7 separate regions of the Homo sapiens genome follow, and regions 1, 2, 3, 4, 5 and 6 are each linked to region 7. The links are contacts of gene promoters, found by promoter capture Hi-C in blood cells and fetal thymus (Javierre and others, 2016). All regions are on one chromosome and are shown on one strand. The core of a region is centred on a gene start or on the middle of the fragment in contact, and the rest is flanking DNA. Distances in the headings are between cores, read along the strand shown. Region 1 has its middle 52 kb from the start of APOL3. Region 2 overlaps APOL3 (apolipoprotein L3). Region 3 has its middle 51 kb from the start of RBFOX2. Region 4 overlaps RBFOX2 (RNA binding fox-1 homolog 2). Region 5 overlaps RBFOX2 (RNA binding fox-1 homolog 2). Region 6 overlaps LINC01399 (long intergenic non-protein coding RNA 1399). Region 7 holds the start of APOL6 (apolipoprotein L6).

Region 1 (3,856 bases), core at 1,273-3,772, 460 kb after region 7:
TTTGTGTGTGTGTGTGTTTGTTTTTTTTTTTTTCTGAGACAGAGACTTACTCTCTCACCCAGGCTGAAGTGCAATGGTGCGATGCCTCACTGCAACCTCCGCCTTCTGGATGCAAGTGATTCTCCTGCCTCAGCCTCCAGGGTAGCTGGGATTATAGGCGCCTGCCACCATACCCAGCTAATTTTTGTATTTTTAGTAGAGACGCGATTTCACCATGTTGGCTAGGCTGGTCTCGAACACCTGACCTCAAGTCATCTGCCTGCTTCAGCCTCCCAAAGGTGCTGGGATTACAGGCATGAGCCACCGCTCGTGGCCCAAGCAATATTTGTTAACCAATTCTCTGCAGTGACAAAACATCCTGTTTCTATTAATATACATATAGAGACCAATGGTATTCTTGGCTAGCGTTTACAGGGGAAGGATTTCCTCCCCCACCCAATCAAGCCCAAGCACTACTGCCCATGCAGTGCCCACCCCCCTCCAAACCATGCAGGTTTGGGATGAGACTGGGCGAGAGAGGAACGAGAGAGGGAAGGAGCAGGAAAGCAAGACAGGAGACTGGAGAATGCACTTCCCATGACACAAGGGTGCCTCCCATTCCATTTCATGAGATACTTTTTTTTTTTTTTTTGAGATGGAGACTCGCTCTGTCACTCAGGTTGGAGTGCAGTGGCATAATCTCAGCTCACTGCCACCTCCACCTCCCGGGTTCAAGTGATTTTCCTGCCTCAGCTTCCTGAGTAGCTGGGATTACAGGCACCCACCACCATGCCCGGCTAATTTTTATATTTTTAGTAGAGATGGGTTTTTGCCATGTTGGCCAGGCTGGTCTTGAACTCCTTACCTCAGGTGATCTGCACACCTCAGCCTTCCAAAGTGCTGGGATTACAGGAGTGAGCCACCGCGCCCGGCTTCATGAGATACTTTTGAGATGCTGTGCATCTTTATTTTTTATTTTTTATTTTTTTTTGAGATGGAGTCTCACTCTGTTACCCAGGCTGGAGTGCAGTGGTGCAGTCTCAGCTCACTGCAACCTCTGCCTCCCAGGTTAAAGCGATTCTCCTGCCTTAGTCTCCCGAGTAGCTGGGACTACAGGTGCATGCCACCACGCCGGCAAATTTTTTGTATTTTTAGTAGAGACAGGGTTTCACCATGTTAGCCAGGATGGTCTTGATCTCATGACCTCATGATCTGCCTGCCTCAGCCTCCCAAAGTGCTGGGATTACAGGCGTGAGCCACCATGCTCAGCCGAGATGCTGTACATCTTTAAGTTACCTAATAGGTAGGGTAGGCAGGGAGGGGAGGAGGGGGCGCTGTGGTAGAGACCAAGGCAAGGGCCCCCTGACGTCTCGGCTCACAGTGCAAGAGGCTTGTATTTTCAGGCATGTTGCTGCAAAAACACATGGTGGCCCATGTAGCCCCAACAGCCAGAAAGCAAGTACCCAGATGACACTTCAGCCTTTTACTCCCCTCTCGGGTGTGGGGCAAAGACCTTGTAAAGCAGCAGTCCCCAACGTTTTTGGCACCAGGGACCAGTTTTGTGGAAGTCAATTTTCCATGGACCGGAGATGGGGGGATGGTTTCAGGATGATTTAAGCACGTTACATTTATTGGAGACTTTATTTCTATTATTATTACATTGTAATACATCATGAAATAATTATACAACTCACCATAAAGTAGAATCAGTGGGAGCCCTGAGCTGGTTTTCCTGCAACTAGAGGGTCCCATCTGGGAGTGATGGGAGACAGTGACAGATCATCAGGCACTAGATTCTCATAAGGAGCCCACAACCTAGATCCCTCTCATGCTCAGTTCACAGTAGGGTTTGTGCTCCTAGGAGAATCTAATGCTGCCGCTGATCTAACCGGAGCTGGAGCTCAAGCAGTCATGTGAGTGATGGGGAGCGGCTGTCAATACAGAAGAAGCTTCACTTGCTCGCTTGCCCACTGCTCGTGTCCTCCTGTGCAGCCTGGTTCTTTTTTTTTTTTTTTTTTTTTTTTGAGATGGAGTCTCGCTCTGTCGCCCAGGCTGGAGTGCAGTGGAGTGATCTCGGCTCACTGCAAGCTCCACCTCCTGGGTTCACACCATTCACCTGTCTCAGCCTCCCGAGTAGCTGGGACTACAGGTGCCTGCCACCACGCCTGGCTAATTTTTTTTGTATTTTTAGTAGAGATGGGGTTTCACCGTGTTAGCCAGGATGGTCTTGATCTCCTGACCTCATGATCCGCCCGCCTCGGCCTCCCAAAGTGTTGGGATTACAGGCGTGAGCCACCGCGCCTGGCCGCAGCCTGGTTCTTAACAGGCCTCAGACTAGAACTGGTCCATGGACTGGGGGTGATGGATCCCTGCTCTACAGGACAGTCACAGAGAGGACCAGTCCCCTGGGGGCCAAGTGGCCACCACAGCTGCCCACTTCCCTGCCCCACGTCCCTTCTGATCATTCTGAAAGGTTCCTTCAGCCAGTGTTTTCTTTTTATTTTTGAGATGGAGTCTCACTCTGTCACTCAGGCTGGAGTGCAATAGCGCGATCTTGGCTCACTGCAACCTCTGCCTCCTGGTTGCAAGCAATTCTCCTGCCTCAGCCTCCCGAGTAGCTGGGACTACAGGCACGAGCCACCACACCCGGCTGATTTTTGTATTTTTAGTAGAGATGGGGTTTCACCATATTGGTCAGGCTGGTCTTGAACTCCTGACTTCGTGATCTTCCTGCCTCAACCTCCCAAAGTGTTGGGATTACAGGCGTGAGCCACCACACCCGGCCTCAGTCAGTGTTTTCTGAGTATCCAGTTCTCACCTGGCCCTGGGGAAGCAAAGAGGAATATGGCTTTGTCTTCATTCTTTGACAAAAGGGCCAGACATGCAATCCATACCTCCAGTCCAGGCAAAGACAGGAAGGGAGGAAGCAGGGACTCACAGGGTCCTGTCGTCGGGGCACAGGGAGGGATGTGGTGCTATGGGACAGAATCGTGGCTCCCTAGCTATGTGACCCTTGGCACATGATTGGACTTCTTTAGGTCTCCCTTGTTAGTAACTGGGGAGCTTTAATAAGAGTCATTGTGCAGGGTGGCTGGGAGGGCAGGGCAGCTGTTTACTAGCCCGTGGCGGCAGGGAGCAGAAGCTTGGGACGAGGAGCCTGGGACTGCGACGGGCAGAGACGGGGGTTGGGACCCTGGAGGAGGAAGGGGGGAAGGGTTAAATGAACAGAAGGCCACCCTCTCTTATTCCTCCCCCAGTGGCTGGGGGCCAGAGAAAAGAGATTTGGACAGGAGGGAGGGAGGACAGGCCCAGCGGGAGGCAGATTGGGGTCGGGGCCACGTGTGTTGGCCGGCAGCCTGTGGACCTTCTTTGGGTCCAAACTGCCCTCCCACCTCTGCCCAGGCAGGCAGCTTCCTGCCAGGCTGGGAAATTGCTTTGGCCTGGAATTTTCTGCTTGGGGGTGTGTTTTTGGAGCCAGGTTCGCTGTTAGGAATCTCCAGTTACCAACATTCCTGAAACAGACCCAAAGGAGGCCGACCCCAGTTTTGCAGACTCCGGTGGGAAGTGGGAGGCAGAGGCGGGGCTGGAGGTGATGGCTGTGCTAGACACCTCTAACCAGCTCTGGGGTCGCCAAGCCAGGGCCACTGTCTTTCTTCTCACTGGGCATGCTTTGAAGACAACCTTTTTTTTTTTTTTGAGACGAAATCTAGCTGTGTCACCCAGTCTGGAGTGCAGTGGTACCATCCTGTCTCACTGCAGCCTCTGCCTCCCAGGTTCAAACGATTCTCCTGCCTCAGCCTCCTGAGTAGCTGGGATTACAGGCACGTGCCACCATGGCTAATTTTTTGTATTTTTAGTAGAGATGGGGTTTCACTGT
Region 2 (3,421 bases), core at 412-2,911, 490 kb after region 7:
ATAACTTCAGCATGCAGAAGGTGGAGATGCTGTGTGTGGCTCTCACTGGGGAAGAGGCAAGTGCATTTGCCTTTTTCCTTGGGATGGCTGGGTTCATAGCAGATAAGGAGAGTTCTTTTTGTTTGTATGAGAAGAAGAGTGTGTGTGCAGTAGCAAGCGATTGACTGTATACAATGAGCACAAATTCAGGTGGCTGTTTGGCCAGAGGCTTCCCATTAGGGTTTGTGTCTCTGTTACCCATCCCCATTCCTGATACCATAGCCTCACTGATTAGTTCAAGAAGAGTCACTAACCCAAGCTATTCTGTCTACTGAGTATGTGAAACTTTAATCAGAGACACTAGGAATCAAAGTGTGTGGAGCTAAGCCAGGTGCAGGCAGAGCCCTGAAAGGGCAAACCATATATTCCTGATGTTGGTAATGGTCTGCTCCTGTCCTTCCAAATTCTGTAGATTTTGTTCTTCCTTCCATCCTCTGACCTGCTCTAGTTTTCATCCAATGAATCTTCTATTTTGTTTAAGACAGATAGTTTCTGTTTCTGTTGCTTGCAATTGAAAAATTTTTAAACAATACTAGCAGTACAGTGGAATTGCATCAAATGCAGGTAGCCTGATGGCATTTCAACTCTAAGTGTCAGGGCAAATGCTGGCTGGATCACTGAAGAAGTAAATTACTCAGTGCCAGAAACATTCAAAGCTTAAGTGAAATGTATGAAAAGAATGGGAATTATCCAGGAATTGATGAACAATTGACAGACAAATGAAACACAATGTTCTGGCGTTAGGCAAGTCGGTGGCCGTTGCTCTGTTGACTTCTTCAGGAAGAAATAGATGAATCAACTGAAGGTCAGGGAAGCCTTGGCTGATGGAGAGTTACAGGGACTGAGGCAAGTGTTCTGCAGGATGCTACATAAAAAAGGACTAAGTAGGCCCTGGGTGCACTTTACGAGTGACTTAGGAGAGGTTCTGGGGTGATTTTGTGCATTCTGTATCTCTTGCCCCTGCTCTGGGCTCCAGCTGAGGCGCCCAGCAGTTCTATATTCTATGCATGGAAATACAGATAATTAATGTCCACTGGGGCAAGGCCATGGGGGACAGGAGCAGTGGTTACAGGCCTCCCTCTCTCCTCCCTGTAGAGGAACATTCTGAAGACGCTCCTTGAAGACTCCTCAGGAGGTCTCCAGTCGCCCACATGGGTGACCCTATCAAGAATTTCTCCCGGCATCAGCCTTCTGTCCTTCTCTGTGTCACTCCTCCCAGTACCCCAGTCCTGCTCCTAGAATCACTTCCCAAACAAATCCTCTGCCTGGGAGCCTTGCCTAGGGCTCTCCCTTCAGGGGAACTCAGGCCACAGCAGCCTACATTAGACAGCATGAAGGCTCTGGGCTTTTGTGCTAAGAGTAATAGGAAGCCATTGAAGACATGGAAGCATGGGCTTGAAGAAATCTATGTTCTTACGGGGCAAATTGGCCCAGTGTGGAGGATGGGCAGGGATAGTGGCAAGGGCTGTATAACAGGGAAGACCATTCTGGAAGCTTTTGCAGGAGTCTGGGTGAAATGAGAGGGCTGACTGGATGAGGGTGTTTGCAGACTGGATGAGGGTGTTTGCAGACTGGATGAGGGTGTTTGCTGTCTGGCTATCTCTCTCTGTTCCTCTATTTCTCATGGACTTTCTCTCAACCTACACACAGGCCCCTCTGATTTTAGTCAGCCTTGTGTGACCCATGTCATTCGTGGGCCCTGGCTGCTAGATGGGGACCATGCCTGCACTTGGGCCAAGCCAGATGTCTACAAGCTTTCCCTGAGTGCCTCACAGGCCACTGGGCACTGGGGTCGCCCAGAAATGACCGACCAGAAGAACAAGCAGAAGGGGCCATGGAGGCCTAGCTCCCTGAGTCCCTGGAAGAAGGATCATGAGGAAGTGAAGTCAGGCACCGAGAGCCCAGGGGAGCCCATCCATCAGCACCACAAAGGCACAGGCATAGATCAGTGTTGCTTGAACCCAGATCTCCAGAACACAAGAGGAGAGAGCCAGGTGGACCTGAGATATCATCTTGTCCAGCCCCTCTTTCCCAGCTGATGAGGAAACTGAGGCTCAGAGAGGCGGGGTCTCTTGACTGCAGGCTGGTTCATCTCCTCAATGCACCACAAAGTTCCTTGATTGGTTCCTGGCATCTGGTTTTGCTTTTCTCTTCCTTGTTTTTTTTTGGGGGGGGGACGCGGGGGATGGAGTCTCGCTCTGTCTCCCAGACTGGAGTGCATTGGCGCCATCTCGGCTCACTGCAACCTCCTCCTCTTGAGTTCAAGCAATCCGCCTGCCTCAGCCTCCTTAGTAGCTAAGATTACAGGCACCCACCACCATGCCCAGCTAATTTTTGTATTTTTAGTAGAGAAGGGGTTTCACTGTGTTGTCCTGGCTGGTCTCCAACTACTGACCTCAGGTGATCCACCCGCCTCGGCCTCCCAAAGTGCCAGGATTACAGGCCTGAGCCACCGTGCCCAGCCTCCTTTTATTTTTCTTCACAAATCAATGACTTTTCCAATACAGAATTTGGAGTTTCATTGGAATGTCATCGTTCCCTCAGTGTATCCTGGCCCCAAGCAGGGCTGACATTTGTCAAGTCCTCCTGCTGTCTGCTGACATCATCACCATCACCTTTACCACTGTTCAGACAAAAACTTCAGACAGGAACTTGCTCCCAAAGCGAGAAAGGAGCCAGGAGACCAAGGAATGACTCGAATAAGTCCAGCTTGGTGAGTAGGTGAGTTTATTAGGACTTACACACAGGGCACTCAGCAGGATGGCTCTAGAGATCCGGCCTCCCCCAGTCTCTAAACTGCTTTTCAGTTAATTTTCTGTCTCTTTGCCTGCTGTATATGAGTAATGAGACTGTTTTTCTTGGTAGGTTCTCGCATACTCTCCAGGATGTTTGGGTTTTTAGAGACACCTGGTCCTCAGCTGGGGACAATGGCCATGGCTCATTACCTGGCCTTCAGGGTTCAAGCAGGGGACATATACCCCTAAATAACCTAAAGGGGATCCATCACACTACAACCACCACCTCCACCGCCATCATCAAGAAGCCACTGGCTGACTGAGATACACTTCCAGGAGGACAAGACAGAGTGGATGCTGGAAAGACAGGGCAGGGGACCATCACCAGGGAAAGACTTCATTCTTGGAAGGACATCGAACCGGGGGCAGGTCGGTAGTGGAGCCGCTGTTTCTTCTGCTGTATCCAAAAGTTCTAACTCTTCGGCTTTCTGCATTTTCAGCTCTTTCTTTTCCTGGCCTTCTCATTGCTGGTTCCTGCACACCTCCCCTCTATTCCTCCCCCCAATATATTCGTTAGTCTAAAGGAAATTTCTTCTTCCTATTCCCCACACTCTCCAGTCCCCTCTCCTCCCTTATTCCAGGCTCCA
Region 3 (3,463 bases), core at 764-3,263, 430 kb after region 7:
AGCCTGGCCAACATAGTGAAACCCTGTCTCTACTAAAAGTACAAAAAATTAGCTGGGCGTGGTGGCGGGCACCTGTAATCCCAGCTACTCAGGAGGCTGAGGCAGGAAAATTGCTTGAACCCAGGATGTGGAGATTGCAGTGAGCCGAGATCGCACCATTGCACTCCAGCTTGGGCGATAGGAGTGAGACTCCATCTCAAAAAAAAAAAAAAAAGAAAAAAGAAGTTAGGAGGGAGCATTAACAATAAAAGAACTATGACTGGACACAGTGGCTCATGCCTGTAATCCCAGCACTTTGGGAGGCCAAGGTGGGTGGATCACTTGAGGTCAGGAGTTTGAGACCAGCCTGGCCAACATTGTGAAACCTTGTCTCTACTAAAAATACAAAAATTATCCGGGTGTGGTGGTGCGTTCCTGTAATTCCAGCTACTTGGGAGGCTGAGGCACGAGAATCACTGCCAGGAGGTGGAGGTTGCAGTAAGCCAAGATCCAGCCAATGCACTTCAGCCTGGGCGACAGAGCAAGACTCTGTCTCAAAAAAACAAAACAAAACAAAACAAAAATGAGCATTATTATCCTTACAGATAATAATTTGAGCTAAGAGAGATTAATTGACTAGCCCAAGGGCATACAGCTAGTTGTGGTCTGGCTTGAATTTGAACACAGTTCTGCCTACCTTCAAATTTAGCACTCGTCCTAAAATTCTATAGTCAATTCTTATTTTCAGAAGTAATTTTTCTCCTCATAATTTTCCCTAATTCTTTGGTCCTCCAAGGCCTTTCAAGCCAGTTCCCAGCTCCTGATAATAGTGAATACCTGAAACAGCTAGCTTATTATTCTCCCGTGGGTGTTTTAATTTTCAAAATGTGGAAAGACCAAGGCATGAAGCTTTGAAGGAGAAATTTCATCCACTGGCTGTGGACATGAGGAACTTGGAGTTCCTGGGATCTCAACCCCAGTACCTACACTTATGGGAAACCATCACCCTCTCGGGAAGGCTTCCCTTGTCTAGAAACTTTTTTTGAGGAAATCCAAGAATGTCTTAATAGTAGAGGATGCAGTATGAACACGCCTTTGGAACTCTATCTGACTCACAGGATCCCACAATTTTAGTACAGCCTCTTCCAAGCTGAACCTCTCACCAAACCAGGTTAGGAATTGCGGGTTAGTTATTTGGAAGGAAAGGTGGTAGAGAAGGACCAGGGGAATTAATATTCATTGAACATATGACAGCGATGGCAAATAGAGTTTCTCTGCATCATGCATTGATAAGCACACAGAGTTAGCATCCATGCTCAATTGGTAATGTCTGCCCTTGGTGCAGGACAGCATCCAAGCTCACCTGGTAATGTCTGCCCTGGGTGCAGGAGGGGGCCTGGCAGGATGGTTGCCAGCTCTCCATCTTCTCTGGCTATGAGCCAGGCACTTTACACCATTAACCCCAAGTTCTCACAATAACCTCTGAGGTGGGAGTTTCTTTTCTTATTTTCTGGAGGAGGAAACTGAGGTTTAAAGAGGATGTTACTTGCCCCTTGTAAAAGGTACTAGGTGGACAAGTCTTTAATTTAAAAATAAATAAATAAGCAACATATCACTGCCACAAAAGCAGCAATATTGCTACAATTTACTGAGGGCTTTCTACATGCAAGACACTATTTTTTTGTTGTTTTGTTTTTTTTTTGAGATGGAGTCTCACTCTGTCACCAGGCTGGAGTGCAGTGGCGCGATCTTGGCTCACCGCTTCCCAGATTCAAGGGATTCTCCTGCCTCAGCCTCCCGAGTAGCTGGGACTACAGGCGTGTGCCACCATGCCCAACTAATTTTTGTATTTTTAGTAGAGACGGGGTTTCACCATGTTAGCTAGGATGGTCTCGATCTCTTGACCTCGTGATCCGCCCGCCTCGGCCTCCCAAAGTGCTGGGATTACAGTCATGAGCCACCGCGCCCAGCCTTTTTTAAAAAAATTTTATTTTACTTTAAGTTCTGGGATACATGTGCAGAACCTGCAGGTTTGTTACAGAGGTAAACACATGTGTCATGGTGGTTTGCTGCACCTGTCAACCCGTCACCTAGGCATTAAGCCCCACACACATTTGCTATTTTTCCTGATGCTCTCCCTTCCCTCACCCCACCGACAGGCCCTGGTGTGTATTGTTCCCTGCCCTGTGTCCATGTGTTTTTATTGCTCTGCTCCCACTTATGAGTGAGAACATGCGGTGTTTGGTTTTCTGTTCCTGTGTTAGTTTGCTGAGGATGATGGCTTCCAGCTTCATCCATGTCCCTGCAAAGGACATGATCTCATTCCTTTTTATGGCTTCATAGTATTCCATGTTGTATACGTAGCACATTTTCTTTACCCAGTCTACCACTGATGGGCATTTAGGTTGATTTCATGTCTTTGCTATTGTGAATAGTGCTGCAATAAACATATGTGTGCATATATCTTTATAACAGAATGATTTATATCCCTTTAGGTATATACCCAGTAATGAGATTGCTGGGTCAGGTGGAATTTCTGGTTCTAGATCCTTGAGGAATCACCACACTGTCTTCCACAATAGTTGAGAAATAATGTACATTCCCACCAACAGTGTAAAAGCATTTCTATTTCTCCACAGCCTTGCCAGCATCTGTTGTTTCTTGACTTTCTAATAATCACCATTCTCATTGGTGTGAGATGGTGTCTCACTGTGGTTTTGATTTGCATTTCTCTAATGATCAGTGATATTCAGCTTTTCTTCTTTTCTTTCTTTCTGTTTTTTTTTTTTTTTTAAATGGAGTCTTGCTCTTGTTACCCAGGCTGGAGTGCAATGGGGAGATTTCGGCTCACTGCAACCTCTGCCTCCTGGGTTCAAGTGATTCTCCTGCCTCAGTCTCCCGAATAGTTGGGATTACGGGTGCCTGCCACCATGCCCAAGCTAATTTTTTGTAGTTTTAGTAGAGACAGTGTTTCACCATGTTGACCAGGCTGGTCTCAAACTCCTGACCTCAGGTGATCCACCCGCCTCAGCCTCCCAAACTGCTGGGATTACAGGCATGAGCCACCGTGCCTGGCCCCACTTTTTTTCATGTTTCTTGGCCGCATAAATAAGACCCTGTATTAAGCCTGTTGTATGTATTATCTCCATTCATTTCCCAGAAGCTTGGTGAAGTAATTTACCATTTTACAGACCACGCGGAAACAGAAGAGCCAAGTGTCGTGTTCAATGTCACTGGTGCATCAGAAGCAGAGCTGGGGTGAAAGCCAGATGCAGCCAGCTCTAGGGCCTGGACTTCTGTTCCTTCCCACTGGTTTGTTTTCATCCTGAGTCATTGCTTGGTAGGGGAGGATTCTGAGAAAGCAATGAGGTAAACTATGGCAATACTGACTTACGCACTTCACATAAATCCCTTTGTGAGGAACATGTCATGGGGCTCCACACATTGGGCTATGAAGAGCGGGGTTGGCCTGTCCCTTTGTGGC
Region 4 (3,636 bases), core at 219-2,718, 330 kb after region 7:
AGTATGTGCCAATATCTTTACTTATCATTGAGGATGGAAAATCAATCAGACCATCCCTGCCCTCAAGGAATTCAGGCTAACAGAGATAGCCTTTACTTATAAACTAGTAAAGGGTTACTGGCGCTATGGTTTGCCTTTACTTGTACAGGGAATGTTGGGCCTTTACTCCACCACAAATTCATTATGACCTATTAAAAGATAACATTTGAGATGTATAAAAAAAATAGACCAAAGGCCACAACGGAATATACTTAGGTCATGTAGGTAAAAGATCCTATGTGATCAACACACACACATCTCTCCAAGGCTTGAACACCCATAAATAGGAAAAAGAATGGGGGGAATCTATATGAGTATATTTGGGGATCTCCAACTATTCCTTCCCTTAGGTTTTCATCCTCAGAGATGTTCCATGTTTTGTTTAAAGAGATCATTTTCTAAGAAGTAGTGGTTGTGGTGAGATTAGAACTATTTGGCCCAATTACTAAACTGGATAATTGCCAAAAGTTCTACCCTGGTTTTCTAATGGTTTTCTACTCAAAGCAAAGGAGTAACTCTTGTGTATGAAAGAGAACAGAAGTTAAATATCTACCAAAGCACAAAGCATCAGGTTTACTTTCAAAGCCAAATTTATCCCCAAAGTAACCAGGCTTTACCATCAATTAGGTGAAAATTAAGCGGTTTTCTTCTGGTTATAAATCAATTGGGGCGGGGGTGGGGGGTGCTATGTCTCTTGGTATTGCCCTGAGTTTTGCAAGCAGCTTGCATACAGACCATACACCATTTACAAGACAAAAAAGAGGAAGACCCAATAGTAAATATGACAATCTCTGCCCTCAGAGAACTTACAGTTTAGCAGGTGGGACAGACAAATTAAAAGAAAGGACATCTTCCAGACTGGAATGGGATCGGGCTCAGGAAAGGCTTCCTTGAAAACAAAATACCATTTGGCTGAGATCTAAGGAGCAACCTGACTTTGCACGCTTATGTATTTATGTTATGTGTTTTACTTTATGGAGAATTTTCTGAGTAGAGAGGTAAAAAGAGATACAAGAAAAATGGTAAAAAAGCACAGAGGAGAAAAAGATAGCAAGTGATTCCATTCTGTTGGGACATAAATACTAAGAAAGAAGCCTTTGAAAGGCTTTTAGTAGTGGAATAATAAATTTTTAATCACCAAAACAACGTTATGGTAGTAATTATTATCTTCATTTTACTAATGAAAAAACTGAGGCTTGAGAAAAGTTAGGTAGATTGAGCAAGGTCCCACAACAAAAAATATGCAGAGCAACTGTAAAGCCCATCCTCTTTCTGTTCTATTTCCCTCAGAGTTATACACAGAATGTAGCCAGTTCCTTGGATTTCACAGACAAATCACCTTTTCCCTAGATACTCAGCCCTTGGTATTTAATGCTTTCAAAAATCCAAACATTCAGCCAGGCGTGGTGGCTCACACCAGTAATCCCAGCACTTTGGGAGGAAAGGTGGGCAGATCACTTGAGGCCAGGAGTTCGAGACCAGCCTGGCCAACATGGTAAATCCTTATCTCTACTAAAAATACAAAAATTAGCCAGGTGTGGTGGTGCCCGCCTGTGGTCACAGCTACTCAGGAGGCTGAGGCATAAGAATCCCTTGAACCTAGGAGTCTGAGATTGCAGTAAGCCAAGATCATGCCACTGCACTTCAGCCTGGGTGACAGAGCAAGACTCCATTTCAAAAAAAAAAAAAAAATTAGAATTAAAAATTTAAAAATATAAGCATTCACCAAAGTTAATTTTAGCTTCATTTGGAGGTCAATCCCTTAGGAAAATTGAATATAACCATTTTTATGGTTTTACTGGTTTTCACCAATGTGAATTTGCACACACAAAATTAGTCATTTTCCCCTTATGTTTGAGGCCCCAAAAGATCAAGGCAGCAGTAAGAAGACAGCCCACACAGAATTCACTGTATACCCTGTAACGCACAACACATCAGCATCTATTTTATCCAGCAGCAGGAAGACTTATAAGTCAGGACCCCACAATTATCCCTGTAGAGAGGCACACCAAAGGGAATGTAGGCATAACAGCTACAATAATGGTAACACAAATAGCCATCTGTACTTACAGCCAATCATGCCAAGGGCTTTTAAACACCCACATCCCTACTGCCTCCCTCTCTCTCCATGCAGGTGGGCAAATTCCTTTCCATTCTTCTCCAACCCACATAATTCCAGGGGAATAGATAATCTGATGCTAGGAGCAAGAAGCAAAGAAAGCTGCTATACTTTTGAACACAAAAGACCGAAAAGGAAGAGTCCTAATTCCCCCACCCTGTGTTCTACCCATTAAACCAGTATTTCTCTATTCTTTCTACTGTTTAAAACACAGAAGGATAGCTCCTGTTACATCCCCCAGGTCCCTTTCCCTGACTTCCACCGGTCCCAGCTAGTTTAGACCCTCCTCCCCCCATCTCCCCATTTACTCAATTCTCTTAATGCACTTACCACATTATAGGTCTTGTTGGTACCAGTCTCCCTACTACACTGGGAGCCCCTGAGGTCATGGACTGTCTCTCTCTCTCTGCCTCCCTCCACATCCTCAACAGCCAGCATGGTACAGGGCATACGGGCGCTAAATAAACATTTGCTGGGGTGATTACAAGAACTGCAGAATGAACAGGGAAGTGGGTAGGAGAAAAGGAAATGGTTGGACGGTAATTTGAGGTCTGAGGGTCCAGGATATCTGAATAGAAACCATGCTACAGTCCCTACAATGGAACATGTTGAGTGCAACAGTTATATAAGAAAAATCATTCTTTAATAGTCTCTGATAGAGTGTTTTAGAACAAAAGCTGTTTTAACTCTAACAAGCTAAGGGTATCGTTTAAAAAAAAAAAAAACCACTAATCCTATTTATTAGTGTTATGTCCCAAAAGCAAAACAGCAACAAGAGAGTGTGGCCTACAAAACTACCACAGCCCTACCATTGAGCTCCAGCTCCCAAACACAAATAGCTTTTCAGGACTCCTCTTTCTTTGACAGCTGTTTCACCCACCCTCTCCCCTTAGCCTCTTCCCTTCCTCCCCTACAAGGCAGCAAAGCAAACAATGACTGCACTACAAAATCCAAGAATCATCAGAAAAACAAATCTCCCCAGTTCTCCTAAGTTTATCCTGAGGGCTGCTGGCAAGATAAGCAATTTTTTCCTCATTATGGTAGACTTCACCTGGGTGATGAATGTAGCTATCAACTTTTCAACAAGGTGCTGGAAATAGTAGATCTCAAAACCATACCTTAGTAGTGCACCTGCCCAATCTGCCCTCAGCTCTGCAACCAGGAGGCTTTTACCAGCTCTACTTTAGCTCTAATCCACCAGCTACTACCCGCCCCCTACCAGGGGCATCTGCTCTTGAACCTTCCTTATTAACTATAGTTGTCAAAATCAAACAGAACCTGATAGAAAAGTAAGACAGGAAAGGGATATAGTAAGTTTCTAAGATTGTCTCAGTTTAGACCCCTTGGCCATTTTTTTACCTGGATTTTTTTTTCTATTGAAGAAAACTATAATAATTACTTTTAGGAGATGCTGATTCTTATTAGATTTTACTTTGAATCACTGTGGTAAGATGTTAGAGCTAAAAGCAATCTCAGAA
Region 5 (3,912 bases), core at 1,255-3,754, 360 kb after region 7:
CCTTCACCCTTTTCTTCTTTCACATCCTGATATTAACTCATTCTTCCCATAAACATACTTTGCAGCCTTCCAAAGCCTGAAGGCCATTACTAGGCGTTGGCATTCTTTTTGCTCCTCATTCATTCTTTTATTGATTCATTTCATTCATTATTCAGCAAACATTTATTGAGTGACAACTGTGTACCATGTATTGTAATAATTCAAAAAGAAAAACCAAACACCTGGTCCCTATCTTAAGAAACTTGCAGCCTAGGACAAATTTTCAAAATTAAACTTCTTAGCGTGGCATAAAAAAGGGGGAAAAAATTAGATGTAGGGAAGCAACCTTCAAATGTCCAGCTACACATACCAAGCTGACAGTACTGGGTACCTCTAGGAAAAGAACAGATATTGGAGGTGGTGGTCAAAGTGGTCACTGGCCTTATACGTTTGAGTTTTTGGCTTTTTGGTAAGAATATACTTGCATATTAATTAATTCACAGTTAAAAATAAACTTTAATCAGAACAAGGATAACTAAGGGGGAAAAAACAAAAATAAACTTTAAGAAAGAGGTGACATCTAATTAATTTGATACTCCTAATGACTATCTAGCATGGTGCCTTGGCACATAAATGGAGCTCCATAAATGGTCACTAAGTGGAAGAATAAATGGATGTGCAGAGTTCTACAAAGCAGAGTAGAAGGGGAGAGAAACAGTCACATTCAACAACTGTTGCCTTTACTCAACAACTGTTCTTTTAAAGTTAATGCAGGGTTCTCAACCTCAGCATTACTGACATTTTGGGCCAGATAATTCTTCATTGTGGGAGACTCTCTTGTGCACTTTAGGATGTTAAAGTAACATCTCTGGCTTCCAACCCCTAGATGCCAGTAAGACCTCCACAATTATAAAACTCAAAAATGTCTCCAGACGTTGCCAATGTCAACTGAGGGGACAAAATCACCCCCAGTTGAGAGTCACTGAGTTAACCCACTTATACATCATTCTTTCCACTTCCCCAACCTCCATGACTTTCTCCCAATTTGCCCAGAGTTTCAATGCTTAGGCCTAGATCGTTTCAACATTCAAGTTGACAACACTTTCAAAACTGAGACTCCAAGTTCTTCAACCTACTTATTTCCAGGGGGCACTACCTACACCAAACTCATCCATTGGATCCTTACACATCATTGCTACCCAAAACTCTTCTAACGTCAAGATCTCAAACTCGTAGGAAAAGCTCCTGCTGTCCTTTGTTTTCTCCCACGCCCTTATTCTACCTGAACCCATTCATCTCAGTTTATTGACACTTGGCACTAGGTAACGTGCACTCAGCTACACTCATGGGCTTCCAAGTACTGTCTGATAGTTAAGAAACAGCTGGGCGAGGTGGTTCACGCCTATAACCCCAGCACTTTGGGAGGCCGAGGTGGGTAGATCACCTGAGGTCAGGAGTTTGAGATCAGCCTGGCCAACACAGTGAAACCCCATCTCTACTAAAAACATAAAAATTGGCCAGGCATGGTGGCAAGTGCCTGTAATCCCAGCTACTTGGGAGGCTGAGGCAGGAGAATCATTTGAACCCAGGTGGTGGAGGTTGCAGTGAGCCAAGATCACACCATTGTACTCCAGCCTGGGCGACAAGAGTGAAACTCTGTCTCAAAAAAAAAAAAGTTAAACCATCAGGACCAACTCAATCCCAGCTGGCACTTACTGAGACTGAGCAACCCTTTCATCCCACTTCTTGATGAATCCTTATTACATAGGAACAGCAGCTACTTCTAAAACTTCTCACTCTCCTCGAAGTGTCAACACCACCACCTCTGCCTGCAGACTCCCATTCTCTGAGGAAAGGTTGAGTTCCTCTAACATAAGCTCATTCAACTTCCCTTCTCATAACCTCATACACATTAGATGCTCAATAAATACGTGTTAAATTTAGGAAGAAAACGCATCCTGGCTTAATACTGGCTGTATTCAAAAGAATGATGTTTACGGGGAAAAACAGCTCTCTCTGAATTTTACTCTAATTCAAGATTTTATTCTACAATACTAAGCAACCTTAAGGAAAGTCAACATGCCTCCCTAGTTTCTCAAGGCTACCACCACCAATCAGTGGCATACACTGCTGCTGCAAAGGAATCCTCTGGATAATCGTGAAAGCACACTAAGAGTCTAGAAGGAAGCATAAAATATAAACTCCAATGATAAATGACCATACTGCAAAAACGTGCTGCCCATAAATGTGAACGATTCTTAATTCTGCAATTCAGTGAGATGCAAAGAAGTGTCTAAACAAAATGACAGAACACTGACGGCAATGCCACATGCTAAATACCCATCACTTGGCACTTTGTGAGGACTGACAAATATTCTGAGGGCAAAAATTGCTCTGCAACAGAAGATAAAAGCTTTAAATAATTAATTGGCATAGGCAATTGTATAACAGCTTCAGAATGAAGTGTCCCATTTTCACCTAACCCTAGTGCCTTCCACAGGTACTAGTTCGTCGTCAGAAGAGATAGGCAGCACATGTGTTCCACTGAAAAAATCTCTAGGTCCCCACTGAATCTAAGGCATACCACTTTCACCAGCTTTTGTCTCATGTGGTCATTACAGAATAAGAGGTTTGGCAAAAGCTTTAGCAAAGTAGAGCCAATCGTTTCTCATAACGTGTTCTAAACTTTTTTCTTGACCTTTAGCTTATGGTAGCTTAGACAAGTATCTTAAAAGCATTTCTAGTCAGCCATTTTTGGTAACTTGTGAGCAAAATTATTTTTAGCTGAAAAAGTTTATTTCAATCCCTCTCTCATAACTCAGAAGCATCTGACCAGGTTTAGTTCAAGCTTTCCAGAATAATTTGTCTTTGAGTGGATTCAAAGCATAAAACATTTCAGCTACAAAAGAGAAATTCTCTCCTTAATTAACAGAACGAGCAATCAAAATGTGCAAATATATAGGGTATGTGAATAAAATATCACCTGCCTACCTACTGCCAGCCCTGGTATACTGTAGAAATTAAGCACTTAAATGTTGATAAAAATTTTTGAAAGCCTCTAATGGACAAAACAACATTGTTACAGCATTCCATGCTATGAAGAGCAAAATGCATGCCTGCATGGTAGAAAGTGCTTCATGTAAATTCAAATATAATCAAACAGAACATAAGATTCAAGTTGTGTCCATGCGGCACTCAACCTGTGGTTCCAAATAGAGGGAAAGTTTCTTGAAGGATGCAGACAGATGAGAAAAAGAAAATAAGATAGTCTGCTGGAAGTCAGTACAACTACATATGTACAACATAACCAAATACAGATTTTCTTTGTTCTTTTTTGCTTTCTCTTTTTTTCCTTAATGAACAAAGACTATATTCCTCCATCTACCCTTATAAGGATATGTTTCTGAAGTGGTAGGAGAATCTAATCACCAGTGCCCAGCCAGCTTGGTGAACAATGGTCCTACATGATTGCAAGAGAACAGCAGTGTGCGGATGAACTAACTACCAACGACACTTTGGGCAAATCCCTTGCTCGCATGCCCTCCACCCCAACCTCACTGACTCACTTGCAGTTCCTCTCATACCTTGCCCTTGTACATACTGTTTCTTTTGTCTAGAATGACCTGCCCTGCTTATCCACTCAATACGCAGCAACAGCTTCTGCAGAATGTTCTCCAAATGCCCATCCCACCCCAGCCAGATAAGAATCCCTCAATTCCTCCATTATGCTCCCATAGAAGCACTACTCATCCTGGCTTGGTACAGACACTCCTCTATCCACCACCAAGTTAGGTTCTGTAATGAAAGGCTGCTCCTAAGTCCATTTGTTCATAAAATTCCAAGGTGAAAAAAATCCAAGTAACCCATGGGTGCATGTCTAGCTAGGGGACATTTCTTAAGAACAAGGGAGAGGCTTATGGTAGTGATTCTCAC
Region 6 (3,526 bases), core at 769-3,268, 420 kb before region 7:
AATGTACCGGTGAGAATGGAGGCAGAAAGATCAGTTAGGAGGCAGCTATGGTAAGACATGATGTAGCAAATCCCGGGAACTGGCTACTCTAAGCCATCTGCACACCCCCTGCCCCTGCACACTCACTCGAGCCCCTCCCCAGTAAAAAAGACAAAGGCTCTCAATTAGGAGTTATGGCCTGGAATGAGGAAGTGACGCCTGGAGAAGCAGCAACTACCCTGTGACCACAAGAACCAGTGCCAACACTGAGGATACTGGAGTAGAAACAGGAGGAGGCACCAGGGTCCCTGATGACATTTTTGGGCATTTGTTCCAGTTCTGGACTGCCTGCCCCAGACTTCCTTTTGCATGTAATAATACACCCTTCACCTTTGTAAGCAATGGAGCTGTTTTCTGTTACTCAATGTCAGGCCTCTGGGCCCAAGACTGCACATACATATCCAGATGGCCTGAAGTAACTGAAGAATGACAAAAGAAGTGAAAATGGCCTATACCTGCCTTAACTGATGACATTACCTTGTGAAATTCCTTCTCCTGGCTCATCCTGGCTCAAAAGCTCCCCCACTGAGCACCTTGTGACCCCCACCCCTGCCAGACAGAGAACAACCCCCTTTGACTGTAATTTTCCACTACCTACTCCACTCCTATAAAACGGCCCCACCCCTATCTCCCTTTGCTGACTCTCTTTTCGGACTCAGCCCACCTGCACCCAGGTGATTAAAAAGCTTTATTGCTCACACAAAGCCTGTTTGGTGGTCTCTTCACAGGGACACACATGAAACTCAATCCTGACCAATATGAGGCATGAGAGCCTGGCCTAGAGAAGTTGTGGAGGACAGCGGAGAGGAAGTACTTAATACTTAGGAGGTGGTAGAATTGACAACACTTTATGCCTAACCAGACATGAGGGGAGGAGGAAGTCAGGGAGGAAAGAATGTCTTCCCCAACATAAGGAATACAGCAGGAGAAACAGGTTTCAGTGGTAAAATCAGAGGTGCATCATCATCATGTCAATAAGCTGCTTCAGACCGTATTGTTTTCCCCCGAATTCTTATATTGAAGCCTTAACTCCCAGTGAGACTGTATTTGGGGCTAGGGCCTTTGGGAGATAATTAGGCTTAATGAGGTCATGAGGGTGGGGTCCTCGTGATGGGATTAGTGCCCTTATAAGAAGAGAAACAGACATCAGCGCTCTCCCTCTGTCTTGTGAGGACACAGTGAGAAGGCAGCTTTCTGCAAGCCTGGAAAAGGGTCCTCACCAGACCCTACCACACTGCACCCTGATCTCAGACTTCCAGCCTCCAGAACTGTGAGAAATCAATGTCTGTTATTTAAGCCACACTGTCTATGATATTTCATTAGGGCAGCCTGAGCAGACTAATATGTAAATGCTGTGCATTGTGCTAAGAAAACAGGTTTTCCCTGTTGTCCCAAAATTCTGCATAAACCCCCAAACTAGGGACAATGGGCATGAAATCCTCTCACATTCTAAAAAGCACAGTGACATAGCCATGCAAGATGAGCCAAGAAAGGACAGAAGTACCTCTGCCCCACAGCCATCACCCCTTCCCAAGCCCCTCCAACCTTTATCAGCAAAAGACCTGGAGGAATTCCAGAGGACTCACTAGACAAGGGAGTATTTGAAATATGGGGAGAGCGCTGTGTCTTTTCGTTTCCTGCTGTACGGCCCTGGCTCCCACCCAAGCCAACTTCAAGAAAGTCATTTGCAAAGATTAGGGCTATGGCATCGTTTGGGTTCCCCAGAAGGAGACCTTGAGGCAAGAATCCAAGGACACGTGACTAACTTGAGAGATTATCCAAGGAAACTCCAGGAGGGGAATAAGAAAGAGCTGGAGAAAGAACGGCAGTGAAAAGGGTGTGGTTATTGAGAAGTGACCACTGTGGATGAGAGGGAATTCATCCTGCTGTGAAACACTGGGAGCTAGTGAGGAAGACGACTTTCAGAGTCATCCCACCAGGGGGCAAGGGACCTGGGCATTTATTAATACACGCCAACACTCACCAGTCATCATGGAGGGCTGCTGCTGTGGTGTTAATTTCCTGGTACTTAGGCCCACTACTCTGGCCCGGGGCCTGGCCACTGTAGAACGCCCTCAGGCAAAGAGATACAGGGGCTGCCCTGGAGGTTAGCCAGTGAGCACTTTAGCAGAGACAAGGAATGTAGGTAGGAGACATTGCCCACATCCCAGCATCTGCTAGGGGCTGCCTGAAAGAAAAGGACCCTAGATCTGTGTTTCTGCAGCAGACTCTCTGATCTGCCCCTTAAGTCTAACAGAACAGGGGAGAAAAGACCTGGAGCGAGGCACAGGGTAGGGGGTGGAGGTGCAGCAGCAGGCACTCCCACTATAGCATGGCAAAGATGCGTGAGTCTCCCACAGGCGGAGAGAACACCACTGAAGGACCAAGACTTGAGCAATTTCCACGTCCAAAGATCCTAATCATTACCCAAGGAGACTTGAGTGGCAAGAAGCTGTGGGCTCCCCCTGGCAACGATGGGGGCTAATGGGGTGGTCAGGGCTCCCACAAGAGCTCTTCACGAGGACCTCTGAAGAACCCACACAGGCACCCTGAGAAACAGCTAGCATCCTGCCCATTGCTCCCAACCTTTCCCATCCCTCTCCCGGCGCAGGTCTCTGGGGCTGGGTCAAGCCTGAGCGGGAGGGTGGGAAAGAGGAGCATTAAATGAAAAACCAGATTGAAGTACTTAGCTGCAAATGACCAAAAATCTCAAGGATCTGCCTACGATATTGTAAGAAAGATAAGAGTAGAGCAGAATATGCCCCCACCTGGTTCAGACAGTTCAATACATCCTTGATAACAACCAGCTATTGAGTACCAGACACACAGCGAGGTGTTCCTCAGGGCTGAGCTCATCTAATCCTCTCAGCAACCTTAGGGGAAGGTGTTACTGTCCCTACTGTACAGCTGAGAAGTGTGAGGCTTAGAGAAGCTACACAGTTTGCTCAGGATCATACAGGCAACGCATAGCAGAGTCTAAATTCAAACTCGGACCATTTTCATTCTGGTGCCTTGTTCATCAACTGGTAGGTAAATTATGGTATACCCATACAATAGAATACTAGTCAGTAACAAGAAGAAATGAATGACAGATGCATGACGGAACCTGGATGAATCACAAAAACGTTATGCTGAATGAAAGCAGGCAGACACAGAAGACTACTTTCTGTAGGATTCCATGTATATGAAATTCTAGAAAAGGCAAAGCACAGTGCCAGGGAACAGATCAGTAGTTGCCAGAAGCCAAAGACTGGAGAAGAAATGGGGCATGGGAAGCTTTCTGGGGTGGTAAAAATGTTCTATACCATGGCCAGATTCTGTGGCTCATGCATGTAATCCCAGCACCTAAAGGTGTTAGCAGAGCCAAGGAGGCTCTAGCCATGTGAGGGCATGGGCTGGAGAGGAGGACAGAACTAGAGAAATAAAATGAAATGACAGGTGGTAGAGTTGAGAAAGGGATGGACAGGGAGCAAATCCTAGAGTAAAC
Region 7 (3,478 bases), core at 218-2,717:
TCCCCAAGTGTGGGAGGCCAGGAGCAGGGGTGGGTTGTGGAATCCGGGATGCCACGGTTGGAAAGGCCCCTACAAGACCCAACTCAGCAGCCCTTAACCCCTCATTCCTGCTCGTAGGGCCCAGGGACAGGAGGTGGCCTCTATCACAGCAAAGCCAGGACTGGCTAGGTGGGCCGCACCTTCTGCAAAGCAACAGCCTCCAATGTGGTCTCAGCTAGGGGTGGTGACTGGGGACTTCTGGGCATATAAATACAAACAAACCACATGGCTTCTGATCACAATTTGACACAAATGCTAGAGAGACACAGATCTCAGCCCGTAACCTCACTGTGGGCTCATTCTTGTAGACACAGAGCCTAGGACTGGTTCTTAGCTGTGTAATCACAAACAACCCACAACTTCTAGAAGCCTGGGTTTCCTCTTCCTTAAAGTGGGAGACAGAGTATCACAATCCTATATCTCCAATCCTTGAGGCCAGATGCATGTCAGAGTTCCTGATTTGGGGGATTTTTAGAAAGGTAATGGGGTGCAGGTATCGTGTACTATGTAACCCACGCACCCGCAGCAGCCCTCCTCAGTCAAACATATTAATATTTCTGCAGTGACTGTAAATATTCAAATTAAGCAGGAGACATAAAAACCACAGGTGAATTCATGCCAGATCAGGTCAGGTTTTGCCACTAAATGAATAAATTATCATTTTTTTTTAAGTTTTCATTCTGAGGCCAGGTGCGGTGGCTCACGCCTGTAATCCCAGCACTTTGGGAGGCCTAGATGGATGGATCATTTGAGGTCAGCAGTTTGAGACCAGCCTGGCCAACATGGCAAAACCCCATCTCTACTAAAAATACAAAAATCAGCCGGGCGTGGTGGCAGGTGCCTGTAATCTCAGCTACTAGGGAGGCTGAGACAGGGGAATAGCTTGAACGTAGGAGGCGGAGGTTGCAGTGAGCCGAGATCGTGCCATTGCACTCCAGCCTGGGCAACAGAGCGAGACTTCATCTCAAAAAACAATAATAATAATAATAATAAAATAAAGTTTCCATTTTCAGAGGATTCTGCATTCAGAGTTATTAGCCCTTTAATGCTGTGCACCTCATAGGGTTGTTACCCACATCAGCGTCACGTAAGATGCTGTGGAGGAAAGCAGTTTCAGAACAATCAGTGATGACAGCTACTGTGAATCCACTATTCAACAGGCGCCCCATCGCTTGCTCATGGGCTCCTCACCATAGCTCTAAGCCACAGGAGCTATTTTCATACCCCATATAGGTCCATCCTATAACACAGCCAGGACAGAGACGAGAGACTCAGGCCTCCTGACTTGGATTCTGCTCTTTCACCTCCTTGTTCATCCAATTAGAGAAACTGGCAAAAAGGAAACTGAAAGTGACAGCTGGAGCCCATGATTTCCTGGAAGAGCCCTAGAGCTTTGCTTTTTCTCTCCTGCAGCACTTAACCGAAACCAGTTTTGCAATCAATTCCTGTTCAAAGGCCACCCTACTCTTCCTATCCGTCTTTCTCCAGCCCAGACACTCACAGCCCCCTGCCAGACCAGGGGACCTCGGAGAGGCAAGGACAGAGGTTCAGGATCTTCCTCTCCCTCGGGACCCAAGGCCACAAAGGAGAGCTCCGTGGAGAGAAGGTGAGACGGCGGGCAGAAGTCGGGGGAGGAGGGGGCTGCCGCTCTGGTCCCTGAAGGACAGAGCCCCCAAGGGGTTGGCTTTAGGCACCTGACTCAGGGAAAAGAGCTGCTGTGAAAGCAGCGGGGTTCAAATGCCAGCCAGAGCTTGAGGAGAGTCTGAGGATTAACTTCTCCTGTGTTAATCCTGGTAGGTTTCCCTCCCTTACAGCCATTTCAGGGTTAAATTGAAACATGCTAAAGCATGCGATGTGACTAGCCAAGTTGCATTTGTCCCTCCACTGCTGGGGATCCGAGGGCTTAGGCAGAGGGGACCTGGCCCTTAGAAAGCAGATGATTACATCAGCCACAGGCGTTTCCCTAGAAATTCAGTAGAGGAGTGGTTTAGGGGTGTCATCTCACAAGAAAAAAGGTGCTGGGTGAGTTGTCTAGAAACTGCAAAGCCAACCTACAGAGTTTTCTAGATTGTAGATTTATGTGAAGTTGTTTGGGGAAGAGGGTGAGGGAGTTTGTGATAAATATTAGGGCGACTAGGCCAGGCGCAGTGGCTCATGCCTGTAATCCCAGCATTTTGGGAGGCTAAGGCAAGCGGATTGCTTGAGCCCAAGAGTTTGAGACCAGCATGGGCAACATAGTGAGACCCCGTCTCTACAAAAAATCAAAAAATAGCTGGGCGTGATGGTGCACACCTGTAGTCCCAGCTACTTGGGAGGGTGCTGAGGTGGAAGGATCACTTGAACCCAGGAAGTCAAGAATGCAGTGAGCAGTGATCGCACCACTGCACTCCAGCCTGGGCAACAGAGTGAGACCCGGTCTCAAAAAAAAAAAAAAAAATCTAGGGAGGTTATCTTGAAGCTGTGTTTTCAAAGTAAGCAGATTTTTCTTACTTAGATTGTGTATCTGCAGAAGTTGGTTTTGTGGGGGAAGGCAGGTAAGGAAAGACTGTCATAAATATCCTGTAAGCTTTCAAATGAAAGTAAGTTCTCAAATCCTCTTCCAATAAACCTCTCACAAGCAAATCCTCTCGCAACCACCAAGAGCAGGTCAGAGGGGATGGAATGGGACCTGCTTAGATGAGTTTCCTGCTGTTACCTTTGCCCTGCATCCCATAGGACTAATGTAAAAAAATGAGAGAGGTATTGGCGGACGCTGGTAAAAAATGGGGTTCCAGACCAGAGTCTCTTACCCCCAGCAACCTTGTCATGTTCAACCAGGTGATCCCTGGTTGTGGGGGCTGTCCTCTGCATCGTAGGGTGCTTGGCAGCATCCCTGGCCTCTGCCCTCTACATACCAACAGCAGTACCCTCTCCAGCTGAGACCATCAAAAATGTTTCCAGATATTAGCAGTGTCCCTGAGGAGCAAACACGCCCTGTTTGGGACCAACTACTCCAGACTCTGCGTGGCTGGAATTGCACAGGCTTTCCTGCTTACTGTGTGACACTGGCCTCCCTATGTCTCAGTTTGCACCTCTGTAAAATGGGCATCATCTTAGCACCGATCTCACTGGGTCACTGTGTAAAGCAGGTAGATGTATGTCTGGTGAAAGTAAACTCTTAAAGGTGCCAAGCCCCCTAAACCAAACCTAGCTTCACATACCAAAGAGGGGAGAAGGTTTTTATCTTTGAAGCATTCATTCTTTTTCATAGACTACCCCAAAGAAATAACCAAACATGTAGACAGACGTCTATATAAGGATTTTAACCAAAAATTATAAATACAAAATTTTAAAATAACTGAAAACAACCCAAAGGTTCAACAGTGAGAGAGTTATTGAATGTGTAATGATACATTCGTAAAATGAAATGCGACATGGCTTCTATGTATCGCCTGGGGAA

Evidence for each region. The method cuts DNA at HindIII sites, captures the fragments that hold promoters and counts their contacts. A CHiCAGO score of 5 or more calls a contact.
Region 1: a fragment that was not itself captured here is called in contact with the fragment with the promoter of APOL6 in region 7 in 2 of 17 cell types (endothelial precursors and M0 macrophages); the score reaches 6.5 in endothelial precursors.
Region 2: a contact is called between a fragment that was not itself captured here and the fragment with the promoter of APOL6 in region 7, in 3 of 17 cell types (M0 macrophages, M1 macrophages and endothelial precursors). The highest score is 9.5, in M0 macrophages.
Region 3: a fragment that was not itself captured here is called in contact with the fragment with the promoter of APOL6 in region 7 in 2 of 17 cell types (M0 macrophages and endothelial precursors); the score reaches 7.7 in M0 macrophages.
Region 4: a fragment that was not itself captured here is called in contact with the fragment with the promoter of APOL6 in region 7 in 3 of 17 cell types (M1 macrophages, M2 macrophages and fetal thymus); the score reaches 6.1 in M1 macrophages.
Region 5: a fragment that was not itself captured here is called in contact with the fragment with the promoter of APOL6 in region 7 in 2 of 17 cell types (endothelial precursors and M1 macrophages); the score reaches 5.2 in endothelial precursors.
Region 6: a fragment that was not itself captured here is called in contact with the fragment with the promoter of APOL6 in region 7 in 1 of 17 cell types (neutrophils); the score reaches 5.3 in neutrophils.

Annotation. Positions count from the first base shown.
Region 1 is chr22:36,107,267-36,111,122 of GRCh38, forward strand. No RefSeq gene overlaps it. Among named protein-coding and RNA genes, the nearest start is that of APOL3, 52 kb to the right of the region's middle. The HindIII fragment of the contact is 1,193 bases long and covers 1,927-3,119 here.
Region 2 is chr22:36,137,580-36,141,000 of GRCh38, forward strand. APOL3 (apolipoprotein L3) reads right to left here. Exons shown (of 4, transcript NM_145639.2): 4 at 2,750-3,421. Among named protein-coding and RNA genes, the nearest start is that of APOL3, 21 kb to the right of the region's middle. RefSeq lists an enhancer at 3,374-3,421. The HindIII fragment of the contact is 260 bases long and covers 1,532-1,791 here.
Region 3 is chr22:36,077,891-36,081,353 of GRCh38, forward strand. No RefSeq gene overlaps it. Among named protein-coding and RNA genes, the nearest start is that of RBFOX2, 51 kb to the left of the region's middle. The HindIII fragment of the contact is 2,254 bases long and covers 887-3,140 here.
Region 4 is chr22:35,979,927-35,983,562 of GRCh38, forward strand. The region is part of intron 1 of RBFOX2 (RNA binding fox-1 homolog 2); the gene reads right to left. Among named protein-coding and RNA genes, the nearest start is that of RBFOX2, 47 kb to the right of the region's middle. The HindIII fragment of the contact is 5,413 bases long and covers 1-3,636 here.
Region 5 is chr22:36,003,155-36,007,066 of GRCh38, forward strand. The region is part of intron 1 of RBFOX2 (RNA binding fox-1 homolog 2); the gene reads right to left. Among named protein-coding and RNA genes, the nearest start is that of RBFOX2, 24 kb to the right of the region's middle. The HindIII fragment of the contact is 228 bases long and covers 2,391-2,618 here.
Region 6 is chr22:35,227,227-35,230,752 of GRCh38, forward strand. The region is part of intron 1 of LINC01399 (long intergenic non-protein coding RNA 1399); the gene reads right to left. Among named protein-coding and RNA genes, the nearest start is that of LINC01399, 2.1 kb to the right of the region's middle. The HindIII fragment of the contact is 2,590 bases long and covers 724-3,313 here.
Region 7 is chr22:35,646,979-35,650,456 of GRCh38, forward strand. It overlaps APOL6 (apolipoprotein L6), which reads left to right and starts at 1,468. Exons shown (of 3, transcript NM_030641.4): 1 at 1,468-1,645. RefSeq lists an enhancer at 1,173-1,472. The HindIII fragment of the contact is 8,876 bases long and covers 1-2,603 here.